3 separate regions of the Homo sapiens genome follow, and regions 1 and 3 are each linked to region 2. Evidence: promoter capture Hi-C in human tissues and cell types (Jung and others, 2019). All regions are on one chromosome and are shown on one strand. Each heading gives the region's core, a stretch centred on a gene start or on the middle of the fragment in contact. The rest is flanking DNA. Distances are from core to core; before and after follow the strand shown. Region 1 overlaps CNPY2 (canopy FGF signaling regulator 2). Region 2 holds the start of MMP19 (matrix metallopeptidase 19). Region 3 overlaps ZC3H10 (zinc finger CCCH-type containing 10).

Region 1 (2,700 bases), core at 89-2,588, 470 kb before region 2:
ATTTATAAGCATATATTCTGCAGAATGGTGGTTGGTGTGTGTTTGTGTCAGCTTGGTCTGGGAAATTTTCTTGATACTGGCAGATATCAGTATGAGAATGGCATATTCCTTTAAATTGTTTGCCATTTGCAGATCTTTGTGACCATGCCCTGCACATATCGCATGATGAGCTATGAACCACTGGAGCAGCCCACACTGGCTTGATGGATCACCCCCAGGAGGGGAAAATGGTGGCAATGCCTTTTATATATTATGTTTTTACTGAAATTAACTGAAAAAATATGAAACCAAAAGTACAAACTGTGTTGTCTTTTCATGCCTGGAATTGCCCTTACATTAAGCTTGAAGATAAGGAGTTATATAGACAGGAAAGATAATGGAGGAGAAAGAAGAGTTTTGGGATTGATACAGGATAAAGGTAGGAGAGGCCTGAACCTTTAATTCTTCTACCTTCTGAGATTCCACTCCACTCATAAACTAGATAAGCTTTCAGTCAGTGCCCACTCAATACCACGTCTTTAGAGTCTAATTGTGGAGAATAGAGGAACCTCCATGAGGAAGCAGGGGAACATAGTGTATGGTAGTGTAGAATTCTAGAAATCCCTTGTGTTCATGGCTGTTGAAACATAAAGTAAGACAGGGCTTGGTCTTGAAGGAAATAACGGATATGCATTATTCTTCCTTCCCTGCCCATCCAGATGGAGGGACCAGCAAGAACAGAGACAGGAAGGGGAAAATGGATGTGACCAACTCAGCTGAAAAGTAAGGGCTTTATCGGATAGGGACAGACGAGGTAAGGAAGGTTGTTTAATGAGAGGCCTTGCTTGCCAGCCTAAGCTTTTAAATTTGATGCCAGTGGCAACAATAAAGTGTATCTATCACTAGCCATTGTCAATCTGGACTATAAGTCTGTCCACAATTCTGTGTGTAGAGATTCCAGACTGGGGCATAGGGATGAAAACCTAAAGGATACCTTCTTTTGGGAAATTCTTTTTTTCTTTTTTTTTCTGAGATGGAGTCCCGCTCTGTCGCCTAGGCTGGAGTACAGTGGCGCGATCTCGGCTCACTACAAGCTCTGCCTCCCAGGTTCACGCCATTATCCTGACTCAGCCTCCCGAGTAGCTGGGACTACAGGCGCCCGCCACCACACCGGCTAATTTTTTTTTTTTTTTTTTTGTGAGACAGAGTCTCGCTCTATCGCCCAGGCTGGAGTACAGTGGCGCGATCTCGGCTTACTGCAAGCTTCGCCTCCCGGGTTCACACCATTCTCCTGCCTCAGCCTCCCAAGTAGCTGGGACTATAGGCACCCGCCACCACGCCCGGCTAATTTTTTGTATTTTTAGTAGAGACGGGGTTTCACCATGTTAGCCAGGATGGTCTCGATCTCCTGACTTCGTGATCCGCCCGCCTTGGCCTCCCAAACTGCTGGGATTACAGGCGTGAGCCACCGCGCCCGGCCTGCACTGGCTAATTTTTTTGTATTTTTAGTAGAGGCAGGGTTTCACCGTGTTAGCCAGGATGGTCTCGATCTCCTGACCTCATGATCCGCCCGCCTTGGCCTCCCCAAATGCTGGGATTACTGGTGTGAGCCACCGCACCTGGCAGAAAATTCTTAAGCACTCTGAGCTTGAGGTATGGTTGTCTCAGGGTTTCAAATGGAATATCTCCGGTCCCAAGAACACCTCAAGGAGAGAAGACCTGAATAAACATTTCAAAGGTTTTAAAAATTACATCATTTTAGAATCTAAAGGAACCTTAGAGGTCGTCTGGTTCACCTCTGCCCATTTTATTGATGAAGAAGCTGAGGCCCAGAGAAGCCATAGAACTTTATGAAGTTCTGTATTTAATGGCAAAACTGGGTCTATAAGCTAACTTTCCCAAGTGCTGACCTGATCTAATATAGCTATAGAGTACCTTCTATTTTAAGTCTTTTTTCTCTAATAATACCTTGCACTAAGCCTGGCGCATAGAATGCATATATTCCACAAAGCTTTCTTGTACCAAAAATCCCTGTGAAATCTGACAAATTAACTAGAGCACAGAGCAAGCACTCTGATATTTGTTGTCAACTAATATCAGCCTGGTGTTAATTCCATCTTCTCCCATCATCCATAAGAAATGCTGTGTTCGCTCTAGTTTTCCAAACCAACTATTATAAAGCTTATTTTTTCTTCTATGATGCATATAAGTAATAATTACATTTTTTCATGTCCCTGAAAGTATACCCAAGGTGCTGTCCATTTCGTGCTTCGTGCCTAAAAATGCCTTTCTTTTCCATCAGAAAGCTTATCAGAAGTATAAATGAGAGTACTCTTCAAGCCAAATGCGGTGGCTCGTGCCCATAATCCCAACACTTTGGGAGGCCAAGGTGGAAGGATCATGATCACTCGAGTCCAGGAGTTTGAGACCAGCCTAGGCAATATAGTGAGACCCCATTGCTACAAAAAATACAAAAATTAGCCGGCATAATGGTGTGCACCTGTGGTTCCAGCGACTCTGGAGGCCAAGGTGGCAAGATCTCTCGAACCCAGGAGGCTGAGGCTGCACTGAGCTGTGATTGCACTACTGCACTCTAGCCTAGGCAACAGAGTGAGACCCTGTCTCAAATACAATAAAGAGAGTTCTCTTCTGGAAACTTAAAACTGTTTTAATTTAGAAAACAAATTATTCATAGTTTTAAATAAATAAATTTAATGTTAA
Region 2 (2,700 bases), core at 175-2,674:
GCCAGGCTAGTCTCAAACTCCTGACCTCATGGTCCGCCCACCTCAGCCTCCGAAAGTGCTGGGATTACAGACGTGAGCCACTGCTCCCGTCCGGTATTTTTAAATGTAAGTTTTTCTTCTTTTCCTTGCATAGCATTTAAGGCCCTCTCCAAATTCTGTCTCCCAACCACTTTCCCACCCTGGTCATTCTTTGACAGTGATTTATTAAGCACAGCCTCGAAAGCATGGAGGTGGCCTGGGGTAGGCACTCGGGCTTCAGTGGTGAATGAAGCAGTCGTGACCCTTCTGACTTACTGAGTACAGCAGTCTCTCAGCTCTGCACTTTTACTCAAGACCTGCACTGTCTGTCTCTCAGTATCCTTTTACCCTATCAATTCTTTTTTTTTTTGAGATGGAGTTTTTGCTCTGTTGCCCAGGCTGGAGTGCAATGGTGTGATCTCAGCTCACTGCAACCTCTGCCTCCTGGGTTCACGTGATTCTCCTGCCTCAGCCTGCCGAGTAGCTGGGATTACAGGCGCCCGCCACCATACCTGGCTAATTTTTGTATTTTTAGTAGAAACAAGGTTTCACCATGTTGGTCAGGCTGGTTTCGAACTCTTGATCTCAAGTGATTCACCCACCTCAGCCTTTCAAAGTGCTAGGATTACAGGAGCGAGCCACCATGCCTGGCCTTACCCCATCAATTCTTAGCTGGCCTTCAAAGCCCATCTCAAAGCCTGACTTCTCAGCAAACCTCCCCCCAGCCCCAAGCCCCTTAGGGTGAATCACCTCTGGCCTGGCACGCTGGCTCCCCTCTTCCCAGGTGTCTGGATCTGCCTCACTGGATCCGTAAGCTCCCTGAGGGTAGGCTCTGGGCCCTTTACTTATTTGTGCCCTTGTTAAGTCCCACCTACACCCACATATTCCAGGCTCATTAGATTCTTGAAATAATGACTTTTTATTAAAGCAGACATAAGTAGGTTGCAGGAGCATCTATATTCCCAACTTGGTCTTGGGTACAAAGAAACTGAGACTTCACGCTTGACTCCTTCACCTGAAACCCAAGCTACCTCAGCTGTTTCCTACCTCTCAGCTTATTCTAGGGAGACTCAAAGGTAGGGGCGGAGTGATTTGCTGGCCCAGGGTCCCTGAGGCACATTGATGTCTAATTCCAGGGGATGTCCATGATCCCTATCTCTAGTCTCTCCAGAGATTCTGGTTCTCGTCCTGCCTGGATGCTCACCCTAGGGCAGTATGAAGTTTTTCCATCTCCAGCAGAGGACTCTGAGGGAAGCGATTGGGAACTCTCTTTGGCTTCCGCTCTCTGGTAGGGCAAGGGTTAATGGTGAATTGCAACATATCTCTTGGCTGAGTCACCTCCCTCTGCCTCTCCCCCAAATTCCCCTCAGCTGTTATAAAGAGGACTAGAGGCTGGAGAGTAAAAAGAACTGGGGGTAAGAGCCCCTCTGCCTAGCACTGCTCCCCCAAGGCTCCCAGAAATCTCAGGTCAGAGGCACGGACAGCCTCTGGAGCTCTCGTCTGGTGGGACCATGAACTGCCAGCAGCTGTGGCTGGGCTTCCTACTCCCCATGACAGTCTCAGGCCGGGTCCTGGGGCTTGCAGAGGTGGCGCCTGTGGTAAGTCCCCCAAGAAAGAGACCTGGGCCAGCGGAGGGACAGGGGTTACTGCTCCACAGCCCCATCGAAGCCTCCCTCCTGACCTTCAGCCTGCCTGCCTTTCCCTTGCTCTCTCTGCCCCATGGTCTACCCTGCCCATCTCCCGCTGCTTCCCCTTGTTCCACCTGAGCCCCTTCTCTAAGGTGCTTCTCCATTAGTGCTTCCATATCAGGTCCCTCCTCTCCTGATGGATCTGTTAGGTCACTTAGAAGCTTTACTCTGAGACTAACCCCCTTTTAACCTGCTTACCTCCACTCCCATCATAGGACTACCTGTCACAATATGGGTACCTACAGAAGCCTCTAGAAGGATCTAATAACTTCAAGCCAGAAGATATCACCGAGGCTCTGAGGTGAGAAGCTATGAGGTGTATGCCTTTAGGGCTAAGGTCTCAAGGTCTTCTTCCTTCTCATCCCTTCCTCTCCCCAGGCCCACCTCCTCCTGACCCTAAACCATGCCAGGGATTTAGAGATGGGTGGCGATCATTATTATGGTGGTGGGGCATGGGGTGAGATGGGGATTCACAGATGAGGAATACAGGCATTGGATCTTCCTAGGCCATAAGCATTCCTTTGGAGTCTCTACCCACATCATATCTCAAATACTAATATTTAGTTATAGTCCACATAAAGTGTAATGATATGTAAAACTGAGTTGAGTTGTTGACATGCTATTACCTTTTGTGGGCCTTCAATTTGGTACTTATTTATTTCTATTTTATAGTTTTATATGTTGATGTAATGGATTATTTTTCTTTCTGCTCTCAGATATGTTCAGGTCCCTTGAAAAGCCCCTAGGCCCTATGACAGTCCATAGATGGATGAAATTGCTCCAGGGCAAGCTGGGCTGGGACGGGTATCCATTCAGGAAGGGAGAAGGCTGAAGGAGGACAGGCTGTCAGGTGGGAGCACTAGTGGAAAGCTCTCCAGAGCAGGGGAGCCAGACACCTCCACAGAGTAGGAGAAGGTTAGAAATTGCAGTAGAGGGGCTGGGCATGGTGGCTCACGCCTGTAATCCCAGCACTTTGGGAGATCCAGGCAGGGGG
Region 3 (2,700 bases), core at 60-2,559, 280 kb before region 2:
CAGATCATCAGAAATTATATAGGGGATAAAACTTCATCCTCAGGAAGTTCTTGTCCCAGCTGGGGCCCAGGAGCCACAGGATCAGCAGCTGCAATGCAGTTACCAACACAAGTAAACAGGGTGGGTCCCCGCCCACTGACAATTCTGCTGCCCAGGTGCCACCTGGTGGTGATAAGCAGTAAGTGGACAACAGGAAGGGATGCCCATTTGTTAGAGGAAGTGTCTTACAGGATGAGGCCTACAGGAGGAGAGAGAGTAAACTTCCTGGACTTGCAATCTGCATTTATATGTAAACCATAATCACCTCCAAGAGGCAGAGGGTGAGATACGGTACTCTGATCTCAGCTCACAAAGATGGGAAGGGCAACAAGATTTGAGGAAACTCCTTCTGTATTCTTTATTCCTCAAAAGTTACTGCCAAGCCAGTCGCGGTGGCTCATGCCTGTAATCCCAGCACTTTGGAAGGCCGAGGCAGTTGGATCACCTGAGGTCAGGAGTTCAAGACCAGCCTGGCCAACATGGCGAAACCCCGTCTCTACTAAAAATACAAAAATTAGCCGAGCATGGTGGCATGTACCTGTAATCCCAGTTACTCTACTTGGGAGGCTGAGGCAGGAGAATCACTTGAACCCGAGAGGCGGAGGCTGCAGTGGGCCGAGATCACGCCACTACACTCCAGCCTGGGCAACAGAGTGATACTCCGTCTCAAAAAAAAAAAAAAAAAATTACTGCCAAGTAGTGATCGCTTTGTTGGATGGCTATATCATTAGAACTTTCTTTTGTCGTCTGGAGTGAGACTGCCTGAATAGATTCCTGGCCCCATTCCTTACTTGCAGAACCCTGGGCAGGTTACTTTTTAAGCCTGCTTTCTCCTCTGTAAAATGGGTACAATAATATTACCCATTGTGTCAATGAGATGTTGCATGTAAAGTGCCTAGCACAGAGCCTTGGCTTATATTAAGCAGTCAACAAATGCTAGCCGGCTGGGTGCGGTGGCTCAACGCCTGTAATCCCAGCACTTTGGGAGGCCGAGGTGGGCGGATCACGAGGTCAGGATATGGAGACCGTCCTGGCTAACACGGTGAAACCCCGTCTCTACTAAAAATACAAAAAGAAAATTAGCTGGGCACCTATAGTCCCAGCTACTCTGGAGGCTGAGGCAGCAGAATGGCGTAAACCCTGGAGGCAGAGTTTGCAGTGAGCAGAGATCGTGCCACTGCACTGAAGCCTGGGCCACACAGCTAGACTCCGTCTCAAAAAAAAAAAAAAAAAAAAAGTTAGCCATTATTCTAGAAATCCCTTTTTACTTCCTGTGTAGCAAACAGGATCTTCCTCCACTGGGCAGCCCTTCAAATATTTGAAGACTTCTATTTGAAGCTTTCTCTTGCCAGCCTTTTTTTTCTAGCAACACACTGGTTTGTCAATGGCCCTCTTTAAAAATTACATTTAGAACAACACACTACTAAGTGGTTACACTTAGGCAGAACATAGAACTGCTGTATTTGTAATCTATTACCAAGGTTCTACTACCCTTATGGAGCTCCTAGAAAGATGCCTAGAACATAGCAGGCTCTTAATAAATATTTATAAATGGACATCTTGAGGGCTAAGATTCTATTTTTTTGCAGCCAACTGGAAGTCCCAGTTTGTTCTCATGTGAATTATTGCTAATATAAATCTCTAACATTGTTCCTCAAACTAGTTCAAGATCTAAGCAATTTTTTAGTGTGAGAGTGCTCCAGTGTTTTAGTCAATTCAAGTTACAGACACTTTGAATATTATTTAGCTCTTCCTGTGTTACTGTTGATAAATGGGTTTTTTACATGTTTACCCGAGTTGGGTTTTTTCTTTTTACAATAAAACATAGCCCTTGGGCTTATCACTAGAGAACAGAGATTTCTCTAACATAAATGCGCTAACCAACACTAAGTACAAGTGTTCAGTTTGATTCTACCAAATGCTACTATTTTTTTCTCATTATTTTTTAACCAGAGCCATTTGCATGGAAAAAATGCTACGATTAACTGACCCGTAATTTTCCTCTTATCTGTGATGACTTAGCAGGTGAGAGAGAGGAAAGTAGCTCCTGTAATCTGGGAACTGGCCTGACACAGCCAGGCTTCAGAGCTGTTAGGGCTGACCTGGTGCTCACAGGTAGCCAATGAGTTCTCTTGGACACAAACAATCTCACAAAACACCAGCATCAGACAAGGTCACTCAGTGACTGCGATGAAGTGAGACAAAAAACAAAATCACTACACAATTTTGTTTAAGCACAAAACAAGGTCAGTGTGCAAACCACAAAACAGCAAACATCCCCTTTCCCAGCTAGTGAGTGACTTCATCATCGACTGTGCTTAGGTTCACTTGTCTGCCCTTCTTCTAGACAAGCTACCCAATTATCCTGGATTCCCTTAACAGCACCCAATCCAAAAGAACACCCACTTTCTTGAATCTTCCCCAAAATCACTTAACCAAAGTCTAAGTTCTCTAAGTCGTTCCTAACACCCTCATGCTGAGACACACCACGTTATCCCCAATGGTGAGCCCTCCCCCTCACTGCAATGAGCATTAAACCCAACTTGCTCAATTACCAGGTGTATTCTTGGTGGTCTTCAGCTGGAGTAAATACATACAAGACATACAATGTCTAAAATTTCCCAAATCTACCTCTTTGGAGATAACCTGGCAAGGAGGAAA

What was found. Contacts are between HindIII fragments. The study calls those that stand out against the background at their distance.
Region 1: a fragment that was not itself captured here is called in contact with the fragment with the promoter of MMP19 in region 2 in 1 of the 25 tissues and cell types used here (dorsolateral prefrontal cortex).
Region 3: a fragment that was not itself captured here is called in contact with the fragment with the promoter of MMP19 in region 2 in 1 of the 25 tissues and cell types used here (liver).

The regions. Positions count from the first base shown.
Region 1 is chr12:56,308,028-56,310,727 of GRCh38, reverse strand. CNPY2 (canopy FGF signaling regulator 2) reads left to right here. Exons shown (of 6, transcript NM_014255.7): 6 at 133-884. The coding sequence ends at 176. Among named protein-coding and RNA genes, the nearest start is that of CNPY2-AS1, 2.0 kb to the left of the region's middle. The HindIII fragment of the contact is 3,127 bases long and covers 1-2,700 here.
Region 2 is chr12:55,841,660-55,844,359 of GRCh38, reverse strand. It overlaps MMP19 (matrix metallopeptidase 19), which reads left to right and starts at 1,424. Exons shown (of 9, transcript NM_002429.6): 1 at 1,424-1,616; 2 at 1,922-2,007. The coding sequence starts at 1,530. The HindIII fragment of the contact is 8,931 bases long and covers 1-2,700 here.
Region 3 is chr12:56,123,811-56,126,510 of GRCh38, reverse strand. ZC3H10 (zinc finger CCCH-type containing 10) reads right to left here. Exons shown (of 3, transcript NM_032786.3): 3 at 1-2,700. Among named protein-coding and RNA genes, the nearest start is that of ESYT1, 3.1 kb to the left of the region's middle. RefSeq lists an enhancer at 12-271. The HindIII fragment of the contact is 4,314 bases long and covers 1-2,700 here.